2 separate regions of the Homo sapiens genome follow, and region 1 is linked to region 2. The links are contacts of gene promoters, found by promoter capture Hi-C in human tissues and cell types (Jung and others, 2019). All regions are on one chromosome and are shown on one strand. The core of a region is centred on a gene start or on the middle of the fragment in contact, and the rest is flanking DNA. Distances in the headings are between cores, read along the strand shown. Region 1 overlaps RRAS2 (RAS related 2). Region 2 holds the start of RRAS2 (RAS related 2).

What was found. The method cuts DNA at HindIII sites, captures the fragments that hold promoters and counts their contacts. A contact is called where the count stands out against the background at its distance.
Region 1: a contact is called between a fragment that was not itself captured here and the fragment with the promoter of RRAS2 in region 2, in 1 of the 25 tissues and cell types used here (aorta).

The regions. Positions count from the first base shown.
Region 1 is chr11:14,293,985-14,296,684 of GRCh38, reverse strand. RRAS2 (RAS related 2) reads left to right here. Exons shown (of 6, transcript NM_012250.6): 2 at 830-917; 3 at 1,823-1,925; 4 at 2,106-2,214. Among named protein-coding and RNA genes, the nearest start is that of RRAS2, 64 kb to the left of the region's middle. The HindIII fragment of the contact is 7,091 bases long and covers 1-2,700 here.
Region 2 is chr11:14,357,739-14,360,438 of GRCh38, reverse strand. RRAS2 (RAS related 2) reads left to right here and starts at 1,256. Exons shown (of 6, transcript NM_012250.6): 1 at 1,256-1,676. The coding sequence starts at 1,569. RefSeq lists silencers at 1,157-1,656, 1,727-1,926, 1,967-2,086 and an enhancer at 2,327-2,426. The HindIII fragment of the contact is 8,284 bases long and covers 1-2,379 here.

The sequences.
Region 1 (2,700 bases), core at 119-2,618, 64 kb after region 2:
TTTCTTGTAGTACATAAGGCAGTTGAAAGGGGAATAAGACAAAGTGTGAGAAAAGAAAGGTATAAGATGAAATGTTCCAGGCCTCTTTGTGTTGTCTCCATTTTTTCCAGATACTTGACTTCTTAGGACTGATGATTATAATCAGGTTGCTAATTCAAATAGGTCTGAATTATAACTTACTGTGTTTTCTAATTTTTCTAGAGTTTGAGATCTAGATTCTTAACCTTAAATAATTATGAAAAAAGTTGTAGATCTTTTACAGTCTTGCATATTTCAGATATGAAAATTTAGAGATACCTAGTACCTTTTCTTCACGTGAAGGTGCTCATAAGAACATTTGGTGGGGAATTGTCATAGAGGGTAAACCCTAGTACAGTGAAAATGTTTTGATTAGTTCTGGATAAGTGGAATTTGTTAAGCAAAGTTACATTGGTACATTGGTAGGCAGGTAATCATAAATTTTATTTTATTTTTTATTCTATTTATTTTATTTATTTTTATTTTTGAGACAGGGTCTTGTCCTGTCTCCCAGGCTGGAGTACAGTGGCACAATCATGGTTCATTGCAGCCCCAACCACCTGGGCTCAAGTGATCCTCCCACATCAGCCTCCCAAGTAACAGAGACCACAGGTACACACCACGTCGGCTAATTTTTTAATTTTTTAATTTTTTTTTAAGAGATAAGAGTCTTGCTGTGTTGCCCAGGCTGGTCTCAAACTCCTGGCCTCAAGTGATCCTTCTCCCTCGGCCTCCCAGAGCATAGGATTACAGGTGTGAGCTACCATGCCTGGCCATGAATTTTAAAATAAAGTTTTTTCTTTTCTTGCAGTCCTATTTTGTAACGGATTATGATCCAACCATTGAAGATTCTTACACAAAGCAGTGTGTGATAGATGACAGAGCAGCCCGGCTAGATAGTAAGTAAACTTCCTTTGTTTGATAATTTGCATATCATATTTTTTAAAAAAGTAAGCGCTGATGTTTTGCTATGTTAAATAATATATTTGAAATATTAGATGATCTGGAATATTAGCCCATGTCATTTATAAGTTTTGATTGAAGAGTCTGCATAATGGGTAATTTAAATATTCCTCAATAAATGAAAAGTAAAACGATATTTGTATTGATCTTGTTCTAGTGAAACTGGTCTCATTGCAGTTTGTTGAAGTTGATTTTATTGGGACAACTGGAAAAAACCTGTCAGGTCTCAACTCTTCCTACCTTTTGGCAAAGGTTAAAATGGATGAAGTGAATATAGAAAAAGTTTGATACTGTTACTTAGAATTTATAGCACAGAGACTTTAGCAAGTACTGTTTTGTGTCTAAACATCCCCCCTCTCCACAAAGAAAGCTCTATTCTTCTAATATGTATGATTCTTTTATTTACAGAGATCAAAAGTTACATTAGCACCTGCACTAAGTATGGTATTGGGGGATAGTGGTTATAACTCAGATTTCTTTCTTGAATTTACAGGTATCTTTTTCAGTTTTTTCCATGGAGGGGATAAAACATTCAAGTGATTTTAGAGGTCACCTGACTCCATCTGATTAAATGTGTTTGATATTTTTAAGCTTCTAATTAGTGTGCTAATATATTCTAACCACAAAGTCAACCCATACTGATGAAGATAAACTCTGTAACTGTCTGCCATTAGAATATATTTGCCTTTAGTATTAAGAATAAAGTACTAAGAAAGGAATGCCATTTCTGTATTATACCAAGTATGAGGCTCTCTAGAGGACTCACATTAATTGGTCTTGCCCTTGTGGGGAAGCAGTTTATAAAAAACAAGTATAATTACATTTGTTGTTTTTTCTTTAGTTTTGGATACAGCAGGACAAGAAGAGTTTGGAGCCATGAGAGAACAGTATATGAGGACTGGCGAAGGCTTCCTGTTGGTCTTTTCAGTCACAGATAGAGGCAGGTTTGTACCATATTAGAATGTAGATCCACTGTTCTTGTCAAGATCACTAGACTTTATTGAGTTTGGACTTTTTGTTTTTATAGAAAAAGGAAAAATAAAGTACTAATTGGGGCATGAGACTTGCTGAATTCTGATACTTGACCAAATTGATTAATTTGTTTTTGATTTTTTTTTTTTAAGTTTTGAAGAAATCTATAAGTTTCAAAGACAGATTCTCAGAGTAAAGGATCGTGATGAGTTCCCAATGATTTTAATTGGTAATAAAGCAGATCTGGATCATCAAAGACAGGTGAGAAGGAATTTCACTGTTGGGAAACCAATTGTTTATAATCATGTGAGTGAACTGATAGATTTAAGGAAATAATTGAAAGTCTAGTAAAAAAAAAATACGGTGCTCCATGCCACTTAAGTGTTTATAGCTGAGTCTGGCACACTGTATTTACAGAAGTCACAGCGGGTGAAAAATAAAAAGGAAGTAGATTTGGGGAAATTAAAATTCCTTATTTTCAAATAGTTTTTCATAAAATTTTATAAGACTTTATAAGCCTGCAAGTGTTTAAACTAGCTTTATTCGCATGTAATAATTTCTTGGATTACATCCAAAACTCTAACTTAGTTGGATAATTTCAAAGTTACCACTAAAGGCCTAAGTTATTCGGTGTTAATACTAAATTAACTTCATGTAGAGAATGGCTTTCATTTAAATTGCAGTATTTGGATTTTTTTCTAAGTCACTTTAATGACTGAATTTTCTGTTAATTCTTTACATTGGCTA
Region 2 (2,700 bases), core at 7-2,506:
ACAGAGGGATCTTGTCTCAAAAAAGAAAAAAAAAAGATTTTTAAAAAAGGAATTCAGGATGGGCTGGCCTGGATGGGTATTTTTGCTTGGGGTCTCTCACGCAGTTGCATTCAGATGCTAACAGGGGATGCCGTCATTGGAAGGCTCGATTAGGCTGAGTGTCCAAGATGTCTCACTTAGATGGCTGGCAGGTGATGCTGGTGATCTGGTGGGAGCTCAGTGGGACTTTTTTTTTTTTTTTTTAAATGGCATGTTGCTCCTGGCCATCAATCAGACTTCGACTGGCATGCCTACATGTAGCCTCTTTAGCATGGCAGTCTTATGATAGTCAAACTTCTGACTTTGTTCCTCCCGGAGTGAGAATACCAAGAGAACAGCTGCATGGCCTCTTCTGATCTAGCCTGGGAAATTAGGCAGCATCTCTTCTGCTGCATTCTACTGGTTCCAAATGAGTTACCAAGTGAAGTCCAAGAACTTGCAGTCATGTTCCAAGATTGCTGTAAATGCTTCCTGTGTAGCAGCACTGTTTTATGTGCTCATTTAATTCTTATTAAAAACCCCATGAGGCCGGGTGCAGTGACTCACACCTGTAATTCCAGCACTTTGGGAGGCCGAGGCGGGAGGATTGCTTGAGGCCAGGAGTTCAACCCCTCGCACTCACACTCCTCATATCCAATTACTGCACATTTGTCACACATAAACATAGCCACTATGACACTGTACTGACACATACAAAATCTGTCACATTCCGTCTTGCCCATGCAAGCTCAATCACTGACTTATTCTCCATGCTCAGCCACTGTCCCATTCTTCACACTGTCACAACCACCAGCCCATCACACACTCAATTACTGTGACACAGCTCTAATCCTCAATCACTGTCACATACTGTTTTTCACACAAATATGGTCACCATCTGTACTCTTAAAGCAGGGTATGTACTCTCCTATAAAATTGAGTTAATATGCCAACAGCCCTATTTTTCGCACACGCCGTCACATATTGTATTTTTCATCCACACAATCCCTTACATAGACAATTAGGGTGACACACTCTTTCTGCCTTCGTCCCACTCCCAACTGACACCCACTCCCACACTCTCACGCACTCGCTCACTGGCTAGGGATTAGAGCGGTGTGTCCGTGGGGGTCTGAAGCCCGGGTTACCTCCCGAACCTCAGCCCCAAGCGGCGCGGCCCCGCCCCTCCCCGCCCCCTCATGCATATGCAGCACCTCAGCCTGGCAGCCCGGCCCCCAGACGGCCATTTGTGGCGGCGCTGGAGGCTGCGTTCGGCAGGCGCTGCGGAGACGCGTAGAGGAGCGCGCCCCCCGGCCGCTGCCGCCCCTGGCCCGTGCCGTCACCCCGCTTCTCCGCGCCTCGGGCGGTACCCAGCCAGTCCCCAGCGCCGCGCTACCGCGCTGACCGGCCCTCCAGACGCCTCCCGGTACCCGGGACCCCAGCCCGGCCGCTCGCCCGCAGCCCGCCGGCCGCACACGTCCCCGGAGCCGGGCCTAGGGCGGGCGGCAGCGGCGGCTCGGCGCAGTCAGGCTGGGCTCTGTAGCGTCCCCATGGCCGCGGCCGGCTGGCGGGACGGCTCCGGCCAGGAGAAGTACCGGCTCGTGGTGGTCGGCGGGGGCGGCGTGGGCAAGTCGGCGCTCACCATCCAGTTCATCCAGGTACCTGGAGCGGGCCTGCCCGGGGCGCCGGAGCGGCGGCGGGCGGGGGCTGGCGCTACCTGTGGCGGGGCGGCCGCCGCGACCTCGCCCCAGAGGCGCCTCGCGGGCCCGGGCCGGGGCCAGGGGGCGGGAGGGCGCGGGGCCGACTACGCTCCTGCCCTGCGGCCGCAGCGTCGCGCTCCTGCCTCCTCCCGGGCGCGGCGTCGCGGGAGTAGGGCTTCTCAGGAATGTGGTCGGGAGGGCGGAGCTGGAAGGGTGGGAAGCACCGATCCACCTTATTGCTCTGGCCGAGGCCAGAGACCTCCGGGAGAGGCTGGGCCACCGAGCCGGGCTTTACTGCTCCGAGGGTCCGGGCGTGGGGCTGGAGCTGGAGCCCCGCGCGCTGCTTTTCCAGCCGCCTGCGGCCGCGCCTTCACCGTCGGGGCGATAGCGGTGGCAACTTGGCCGCGGCTCCGCGTGGTCTCCGGGCTTCCCCGCGCCGCCTGAGCCGGAGCTGCCCGCTTCAAGTACTGTGTATTTCTTTGTGTGTGTGTTACGCTCTTTTTATAAGTACTCTCTTAGGTAATATGTCCGGGTGGGAGTGTGTGATAATGCCCCGGGGAAATGGTGGCTTCTAGGAAGTTAAAAATGTTCTCTGATGGGGTGAGACCATTTCCTAGGAATTCCTGATGCCGTCCTGCTTCTCGCCGTGCCTAGGTGAAGTTTGGGATGGGCCGGGCTAGGATATGACCGAGTCGTGCGTTCTGTTTTCTAACCACCCTCTCCCCTACCCCCAGCCCTCTCTGGTTGCTAGAGACGGTAAGTCAGGGGTTTGTGGTAAAGAAAAGGGAGGTGGTATTCTTCCTTCTTAGAATTTGCTCTTGGGGAGAGGTTTGAGTAGTCTTTTTTGGGATTTTTAAAACACAAAGCCCCGATGTCTTTCTGCTTTTGTCAACCTAAAAGGTGTGGCATATGCTGGGAGAGAACGAAGGTACCCTGTTATAACAGGAAACAAGGATATTTTTCACAGTATCTAGAGTATGAA